Linked DNA regions of Homo sapiens: region 1 is linked to region 2. Evidence: promoter capture Hi-C in human tissues and cell types (Jung and others, 2019). All regions are on one chromosome and are shown on one strand. Each heading gives the region's core, a stretch centred on a gene start or on the middle of the fragment in contact. The rest is flanking DNA. Distances are from core to core; before and after follow the strand shown. Region 1 has its middle 22 kb from the start of RNF216. Region 2 holds the start of OCM (oncomodulin).

Region 1 (4,726 bases), core at 203-2,702, 78 kb before region 2:
AGTGTGTGCTACCACGCCCAGCTAATTTTTGTATTTTTAGTAGAGATGGGGTTTCACCATGTTGGCCAGGATGGTCTTGATTTCGTGACCTTGTGATCCGCCTGCTTTGGCCTCCCAACGTAGTTTTTAGTAGAGATGGGGTTTTACCATGTTGGCCATGCTGATCTTGAACTCCTGACCTCAGGTGAGCTGTCTGCCGCAGCCACCCAAAGTACTGGGATTACAGCCATGAGTCACCGTGCCCGGTGGATTAAGGCTCTCATACGCATCTTGAGATCGGTTCCTTCTGGCTCTTTCATCCCCTCACAACCCTGTAGTTGCTTCTCTTGTAGTTACCCGCCATGATCCAATGCTATGTAATCGAATCCATGCTCAACACTTTGCTATAAGTGCTAGGCTCTCTCCTGTTGGAAATAAATAATTTCCTTTTTTTTTTTTTTTTTGGAGATGGAGTTTCGCTCTTGTTGCCCAGGCTGGAGTGCAATGATGCGATCTTGGCTCACTGCAACCTCTGCCTCCCGGGTTCAAGCGATTCTCGTGCCTCAGCCTCCCAGGTAGCTGGGATTACAGGTGCCCACCACCATGCCCGGCTAATTTTTTTGTATGTTTTTAGTAGAGACGGGGTTTTGCCATGTTGGCCAGGCCGGTCTTGAACTCCTGACCTCTGGTGATCCGCCCGCCTCCACCTCCCAAAGTACTGGGCTTACAAGTGTGAGCCACCACGCCTGGCCGGAAAGAAATATTTTCTGAGATTTATAAGCTTTTTTAAAAAATTAAGGGCTGGGCACAGTGGTTCACACTTGTAAGTGCAGCACTTTGGGAGGCTAAGGCAGGAGGATTGATTGAGGTCAGGAGTTGGAGGCTACAGTGAGCTATGATTGCACCACTGCACTCTAGCCTGGGAGACAGAGTGAGACCCTGACTCAAACAGTAATTAAATCAATAAAATTTAGAAGTTAAGATTCTTCAGCCTCTTTTGGGCTGGGCATGGTCGCTCAAGCTTGTAATCCCAGCACTCTGGGAGGCTGTGGCAGGCTGATCACTTGAGGCCAGGAGTTTGAGACCAACCTGGCCAACATTGTGAAACCCCATCTCTACTAAAAATACAGAAATTAGCCGGTGTGGTGATGCATGCCTGTAATCCCAGCTGTTCAGGAGGCTGAGACAGGAGAATTGCTTGAACTCGGGAGGTGGAGGTTGCAGTGAGCTGAGAGCATGTCACTCTATTCCAGCCCGGGCGACAGAACTAGACTCCATCTCAAAAAAAAAAAAAAAAAGATTCTTCAGTCTCTTTTGATCTTCCTGTGCCCACTTTATGGTGCCCGGAGCTGCTGATGTTCAGATTTGCCATGGGCGGTGCTCCCCTACATCTGAAGATGCAAAGATCTCTCTTCTTCCTTGTCACCTAATCCTGCTGGCCTTCTCAGGCTCATCTGCAGAAGACCCCACTCAAAAGTAGGGTCTGGCCAGCTGCGGTGGCTCACGCTTGTAATCCCAGCACTTTGGGAGGCTGAGGCAGGTGGGATCACCTGAGGTCAGGAGTTCAAGAACAGCCTGACCAATGTGGCGAAACCCTGTCTCTACTAAAAAATATCAAAATTAGCCAGGCGTAGTGGTGGGCGCCTATAACCCCATCTACTCGGGAGGCTGAGGCTGGAGAATAGCTTGAACCTGGGGGTTGAAGGTTGCAGTGAGTCAAGATGATGCCACTGCACTCCAGTCTGGGTGAAAGAGCAAAACTCCATCTCAAAAAAAAAAAAAAAAAAGGGGGGGTCTTCTTCAGAAGATATGTTTGCATGATTTCCATGAGGAAGGCATGTGCTCTGTCCCTTTCTTCCCAATGCTCACTGCGTCTTTTTTTTTTTAATATATGTTTGCATGATTTCCATGAGGAAGGCATGTGCTCTGTCCCTTTCTTCCCAATGCTCACTGTGTCTTTTTTTTTTTAATATATGTTTGCATGATTTCCATGAGGAAGGCATGTGCTCTGTCCCTTTCTTCCCAATGCTCACTGTGTCTTTTTTTTTTAATATATGTTTGCATGATTTCCATGAGGAAGGCATGTGCTCTGTCCCTTTCTTCCCAATGCTCACTGCGTCTTTTTTTTTTTAATAGACTTGACTTTTTTAGGCCAGTTTTAGATTCGTAGCAACATTGAGCGAAAGGTACAGAGAGTTCTCACATGTTCCCTGCCCGTGCTAATAGCCTCTCCCATTATCATCTTCCACCAAAGTGGTACATTTGTTACAATCAGGGAACCTATATTGACATCATTTTCACCCAAAGTCCACAGTTTGCATTAGGGTCCCTCTTGGTGTGGTGCATGTCATGGGCTTGGATAAATGTGTCAGAACATGCATCCACTCTTAGAGCTCTCTCAGAGGCGTTTCCCTGCCCGAAAAATCCTCCGTGCTCTGCCTCTTCATGCATCCCTCCCTTCATGCATCCGTCCCAGGGACAAAAGGTTGTCCCTGGCAACCTTTTGTTTCCAGACCCTAGCAACGGATCCTTTTACTGTCTCCATAGTTGGGCCTTTTCTGAATGTAATATAGTTGGAATCATACAGCATTAATTTTTTTTTTCCACTGAGACAGTCTCGCTCTGTCACCCAGGCTGGAGAGCAGTGGTGCCATCATAGCTCACTGCAGCCCTAACGTCCTGGGCTCAATTGATCCTCCCGCCTCAGCCTTCTGAGGAGCTGGGACTATGGGTATGCGTCACCACGCCCAGCCAAGTGTCCTGGATTTTTTTTTTTTTTGAGACGAAGTCTCACTCTTATCCCCCAGGCTGGAGTGCAATGGCGCGATCTCGGCTCACTGCAACCTCTGCCTTCCGGATTCAAGCAATTCTCCTGCCTCAGCCTCCCAAGTAGTGGGATTACAGGCGCCTGCCACCATGCCCAGCTAATTTTTGTATGTTTAGTAGAGATGGGGTTTCACCATGTTGGCCAGGCTGGTCTCAAACTCCTGACCTCAGGTGATCCGTCCGCCTCGGCCTCCCAAAGTGCTGGGATTACAGGCATGAGCCACCATGCCCTGCCATGTTCTGGATTTTTGTCATCCTAATAGGTTTGTAGTGATATCATTGTTTTAATTTGCATTTTCCCAATGACATACGAAATGAAGCATCTTCTCATATGCATGTTTGCCACCTGTGTATCTTTGGAAAGATGTCTCTTAAGGTTTTTTGGCCCATTTAAAAATCAGGTTGTTTTCCTGTTGTTGAGTTTTAAGAGTTCTTTGTATATTTTGGTTAACAGTCCTTCTTTATCAGCTATGTCTTTAGCAAATATTTTCTCCCAGTCTGTGGCTTGTCTTTTCATTCTCTTGACAACATCTTTCAGAAAGAAGAAATTTTTTAATTCAATGAAGTCCAACTTAGCAATTCTTTTTTTTTTTTTTTTTTTTTTTTTTTTGAGATGGAATTTCACTCATTTCCCAGGCTGGAGTGCAATGGCACTATCTCCGCTCACTGCAACCTCCGTTCCCAGGTTTAAGCGATTCTTCTGCCTCAGCCTCCCGAGTAGCTGGGATTACAGGCATGTTCCGGCACACCTGGCTAATTTTGTATTTTTAGTAGAGATGGGGTTTCTCCTTGTTGGTCAGGCTGGTCTCGAACCCCCGACCCCTGGTTATCTGTCCACCTCAGCCTCCCAAAGTGCTCGGATGACAGGCGTGAGCCACTGCGTGCAGCCCAATTCTTTCTTTCATGAATCCCACCTTTGGCGTTGTATCTAAAAAGTCATTGCCAAACCTGAAGTTATCTAGATTTTCTCCTGTGTTACCTTCTAAAAGTTTTATGGTTTTGAACTTTACATTTAGGTCTCTGATCCATCTGAATTAATTCTGTGAAGTGTGTAAGGTCAGAGTCTGGACTCAGTTGTTTGCATGTGGATGTCCATCCAGTTGTTCAGCAACATTTGTTAAAAAGACCGTCTTTGTCTTTGCTCATTGTATTGCCTTTGCTCTTCTGTCAAAGGTCATTTGACTCTATTTATGTGGGTCTGTTTCTGAGATCTCTGTTCTATTCAATTGATCTATTTTGTTTTTTAAGAGACAGTGTTTCGCCATGTTGTCCAGGGTGGTCTCATTCTCCTGACCTTAAGTGAACCACCTGCCTTGGCCTCCCAAAGTGCTGGGATTACAGGCGTGAGACACTGCACCTGGCTCATTGATCTATTTATCTATTTTTTCACTAATATCACACTGTCCTGATTACCGTAGCTTTACAGTAAGTCTTGAAGTACCATCATACTTTATCAATTTCTCTGTGCCATTCCACCCTTTTTTTTTTTTTTTTGAGACAGAATTTCATTCGTTGCCCTGGCTGGAGTACGATGGTGCAATCTCAGCTCACTGCAACTTCCACCTCCCTGGTTGAAGCGATTCTCCTGCCTCAGCCTTCCAAGTAGCTGGGATTACAGGTGCCTGCCACCACTCCCGGCTAATTTTTTGTATTTTTAGTAGAGATGGGGTTTCACCATGTTGGCCAGGCTGGTCTTGAACTCCTGCCCTCAGGTGATCCACCCTTCTCGGCCTCCCAAAGTGCTGGGATTCCAGGCGTGAGCCACTGTGCCCGGCCTAGTTCCAGCACTTCTAACCTCATGTATTTTGATGCTTCTGTTAGGTGCATACACATTAGGGATTAATTATGTGTTTTTGGAGAATTGACTCCTTTATCATTCTGTAATGCCCCCCCCTTTTTTTTTGGACACAGGGTCTCATTC
Region 2 (5,031 bases), core at 1-2,500:
TTCAGCTTACAGAGCACCCTGTATGTGTTTGTCTTAGTTCAGGCCACCATCTCCACCTTACCAGGCATCTAGAACCTTCTCCACACTTTGCCAACAGGGTTCGTTTGCAGAATTGAAATCTTAGTTAAGGTTTGTTGAAGTTTGTTGTTGTTTTTTTTTTTTTTTTACAATTGGCTGTTCCCACCCACATTCCCTTGAGACATAAATAGAAAAAAAAAAAAAAAGAGGTTTCATGAGTAAGACAAGACATTTGAGCTGCATCCACTTGATCCTTGAAAAGGAAATCTAAGAGGTTGTAACTATCACTTTTTCTAGCCTATATAAGGTAGGTCAGTAAGGTAGCAAAAACACATCTGTTGTTTTGCTCCTTCAACTCTTTTTCCTGATTCTTCCTGGGGGGAAACCGAAAACGGTGAGTAACTGGTGGACACATCAGACCCCAGACTCTTTTCTTCACTGCATGCATTCATATTAGGCTCAGGTGCTTAGACTCCTGTTTTCCGGTGGCTCTGACACCTGGAAGGATTTTAATCTCTGGGAGATGGGCTTTTCATCCATCTGCTTCCCACCTTTCAGGACAGGTGCATGCCTTCTTCCACAGAATGTCTGCAAGCAGCCCAAACTGTATCCTTTCCCACGTGGAATTTGCAACATTGCATCTCTCGGGCTGCTGTAGGAAAATGCCAGTGCATGTGTAACATGGTTTACGGCTGCCTATGCAAATGACTGATTATGTCAGTATAATTTTTATAAGAAAACAATTGAATCCTTCTTTGGGTCATTTTTTTTTTCCATTTTTGGCATGTATTCAAAAGAAGGCTCTGAGACAAAAAAGGCTGGGGTGTTTTCCGTATCTGGTTTTAATTTGGATATTCTGTCCCGTCACTTAATACAAAACCATGCTTATCACATTTTAAAAATTCTAGACAGGCCTGGCTCGGTGGCTTGCATCTGTCATCCCAGCACTTTGTGAGGCCAAGGCAGGCAGATCACCTGAGGTCAGGAGCTCAAGACCAGCCTGGCCAACATGGCAAAACCCCGTCTCTACTAAAAACACAAAAATTAGCCAGGCATGGTAGTGCGCACCTGTAATCCCAGCTACTGGGAAGGCTTAGGCAGGAGAATCACTTGAGCCCAGGAGGCGGAGGTTGCGGTGAGCCGAGATCACGCTCTTGCACTCCAGCCTGGGTGACAGAGTGAGACTCCGTCTTAATTTAAAAAAAAAAATAATCTAGACACACATACAGTTTCAGTGGGCCTGGGAAGATGTGTTTCCCCTGGATGTGCACATTCCTGTTTGTGGCTTATCGCCTCTCATTTATTCTGTGTGAGTAGGTAGAAAATGAGCATCACGGACGTGCTCAGTGCTGACGACATTGCAGCAGCGCTCCAGGAATGCCGAGGTAGAGGGGACGTGAGGCGGGGGTGGGATTTCCTCACAGCTTTGCACCTCCAGCGAGTCAACACAAAATCAAAATGTAGGCCAGGCGGCCAGACGCAGTGGCTCACACCTGTAATCCCAGCACTTTGGGAGGCCGAGGCGGGTGGATCACGAGGTCAGGAGTTCGAGACCAGCCTGGCCAAGATGGTGAAACCCCATCTCTACTAAAAATACAAAAAAATTAACCGGGCGTGGTGGTGGGTGCCTGTAATCCCAGCTACTCGGGAGGCTGAGGCAGAGAATTGCTTGAACCCGGGAGGCAGAAGTTGCAGTGAGCTGAGATCATGCCACTGCACTCCAGCCTGGGCAACAGAGCAAGACTCTGTCTACAAAAAAAAAAAAAAAAAGTAGACCAGGCATGGTGGCTCACATCTGTAATCCCAACACTTTTTGGAGGCCAAGGTGAGAGGACTGTTTGAGCCCAGGAGTTTGAGACCAGCCTGGGCAACATAGGAAGACTCCATCTCTACAACATAACAATAAAAATAAAAACTAGCGGGGCATGGTGGCATGTGCCTGTGGTCCCAGCTACTCTGGAAACTAAGGTAGGAGGATCACTGAAGCCCAGGAGGTTGAGGCTGTGGTGAGCTATGATCGCTACACTGCACTCCAGCTTGGACGACAGAGTGAGACTCTGGCTCTAAATAAATAAATAAATAAATAAATAAGAGGTTGGCTGGAAAATTCATGGAATCAGAGAAGAAAACTGCTATTTATTAGATAACTAAAATTATAGAGATCTGGGATCTGAGCACACGATTACACATCTGTAAGACAAAAGAAACCTACTAAACATGAAAGCAAGACATCACTGAAAGGCCAGGTGTCGTGCTCACACCTGTAATCCCAACACTTTGGGAGGCCGAGGCCGGTGCATCACTTGAGGTCAGGAGTTCAAGACCAACCTGGCCAGCATGGCAAAACCCTGTCTCTATTAAAAATACAAAAATGAGCTGGGCATGGGGGTGCACACCTGTAATCTCAGCTACTTGGGAGGCTGAAGCAGGAGAATCAGTTGAACCCGGGAGGCAGAGGTTGCAGTGAGCCGAGATCACGCCACTGCACTCCAGCCTGGTGACAGAGTGAGACTCTGTCTCAAAAAAAAAAAAAAAAAAAAAAAAAAAAAAAAAAGCGCCAAAGGCCATTTAGCCTGTTGAAATCCAGTGATTGCATTTCCCCCTACCAATTAGACCAGGGATGCTGGGGGCTCAGCCACACAGCCTGTAAAGTGGGCCAGGGGGAGGGGGAGGCACAGAAGAGATGAGGAGGGAAAAGGAAAATGGACAAAACCAAGTGGAGGAGGGAAGACTGGGGCGGAGGGGACATGGGATGCCATCACAGAGCCATCAAGTCTTGGCTGTCCCAAAATCTTGGACCAGTTGAGCATCCCCGTAGCTCAGGGATATTGTTGAAGTGTTTTTAATTATCTGTGTTTTTAGTACCTTGGCCCCAACATAGAATGTGATCCAACAAGCGTCAGAATAACCAATTCTCTGTTCTTCAGACCCAGACACTTTTGAACCCCAAAAATTCTTCCAGACATCAGGCCTCTCCAAGATGTCAGCCAATCAGGTGAAGGATGTTTTCCGGTTCATAGACAACGACCAGAGCGGGTACCTGGATGAAGAAGAGCTTAAGTAAGCTTTGTCCTGAGTCTGTCTGGTACCCGGCACTGCTGAGTGGGCCTGGGGTGCAGTGGGGGCCAGGTTGCTCAGTATTTCTTCAATGGCCAGCCTTGGTGTTGGTCATTCGGCCAAGCATCATTAAAGCAAAGGACATGAGTCAGTTGACCGCACATCTACCCATGCAAAGCCCTCAATATGGGCAGAGAAGACTGCAGGTGCAAAGATTCTTTTTTTTTTTTTTTTTTTTGAGACAGGGCCTCACTCTGTTGCCCAGGCTGGAGTGCAGTGGGGTGATCTCAGCTCCCTGCAGCCTCCGCCTTCCAAATTCAAGTGATTCTCATGCCTCAGTCTCCCAAGTGGCTGGGATTACAGGTGCCTGCCACCACATCCAGCTCATTTTCATATTTAGAGTAGAGATGGGGCTTCACTATGTTGCCAGGCTGGTCTCAAACTCCTGACTTCAAGTGATCCTCCTGCCTTGGCCTCCCAAAGTGCTGGGATTACAGGTGTGAGTCACTGTGCCCAGCCACAAAGATTCTTTCATGTAAGGGATTTCCTTTGGCAAATGGACTTTAAAAAACTAAAAACTTGGCTAAGCGCAGTGGCTCACGCCTGTAATTCCAGCTACTCAGAAGACTGAAGCACAAGAATTGCTTGAAGTCAGGAGGCAGAGGTTGCAGTGAGCCCAGATCGTGCAGCTGCACTCCAGCCTGGGTGACAGAGAGAGACTCTGTCTCAAATAAATAAATAAATAAAAATTAAAAACACTAAAAACTTAAAAATGGGCCAGGCACTGTGGCTCACACCTACAATCCCAGCCCTTTGGGAGGCTGAGGTGGGTGGATTGCTTGAGTGAGCCCAGGGGTTCCAGACCAGTCTGGGGAACATGACAAAACCTTGTCTCTACAAAAAAAAATACAAATGTTAGTGGGGCATGGTGGGGTGCACCTGTAGTCCCAGCTACTCAGGAGGTTGAGGCAGGAGGATTGATTGAGCCCAGGAAGTCGAGGCTGCAGTGAGCCATGATGGTATCACTGCATTCCAGCCTGGGTGACAGAGCAAGACCCTGTCTCAAAAACAAACAAACAAACAAAACCTTAAAAATGAAGTGCCCACCATTGGTTTCTACAGCTTAAGGAAACCTTTGCTTGCTAAGACCTTGGTTAATTATTGCCGGTGCTGGAAACAGGTGATATGCTTAGAGGAAAAACAAAAGTGTAAACACAGAGATGCATGATCTTTTTGAAAATCCCCATGGATCTTTATTATCCTGTAGGTTTTTCCTCCAGAAGTTTGAGAGTGGTGCCAGAGAACTGACCGAGTCAGAAACCAAGTCCTTGATGGCTGCGGCGGATAATGATGGAGATGGGAAAATTGGAGCAGAGGGTATGTCCACACGTGTACGTAGCATAAAACACTCTAGCTCAGGAAGCATCCGTGAGGGCTTGGGCTGTGAGATCAAACCAATGTGGCTTAAAATCTCCCTTTCTTAAACTTACCGAGCCTCAGTCTTCTCATCTGTAAAATGGGACTAAAGTAAGGATGCAAATGATGTGTGTAAAAACCCTGGCATAATGCTCGGTAGGTACTATAGAAGCTGGTCACACTGGTCATTGTCTATGAGCTGCAAAATATCCTTCACCTGACTAGGGGACTAGCTAGCCACCTGGCCAATTATTTGCACCTGCCAACCATAATGCACCTGCATAAAGCGCGAGGTATTTCTACCAGTGGGGTTTGAACCCCTCAGAATAAGGGAAAGATTTACATCCTCAGACCAGGGTCCATTGGCATGCGTAGGAAGCCCTCTTCGTCTTCAAGGGTTTAGACAAATATATTTTATTGGACATTAGCCCGCCAAGGGGATAATATTAAACAGAGAACAAATAAGCCAACCTCATTTATTGAGTCTTCCATAGGCCGAATCCTAGGTTTGAGCTTTAGAATACACTAGCACAGCTGTAG

The links. Contacts are between HindIII fragments. The study calls those that stand out against the background at their distance.
Region 1: a contact is called between a fragment that was not itself captured here and the fragment with the promoter of OCM in region 2, in 2 of the 25 tissues and cell types used here (IMR-90 fibroblasts and stomach).

The regions. Positions count from the first base shown.
Region 1 is chr7:5,801,415-5,806,140 of GRCh38, forward strand. No RefSeq gene overlaps it. Among named protein-coding and RNA genes, the nearest start is that of RNF216, 22 kb to the left of the region's middle. The HindIII fragment of the contact is 3,511 bases long and covers 1-3,208 here.
Region 2 is chr7:5,879,548-5,884,578 of GRCh38, forward strand. It overlaps OCM (oncomodulin), which reads left to right and starts at 1,251. Exons shown (of 4, transcript NM_001097622.2): 1 at 1,251-1,403; 2 at 2,946-3,078; 3 at 4,343-4,452. The coding sequence starts at 1,343. The HindIII fragment of the contact is 18,194 bases long and covers 1-4,352 here.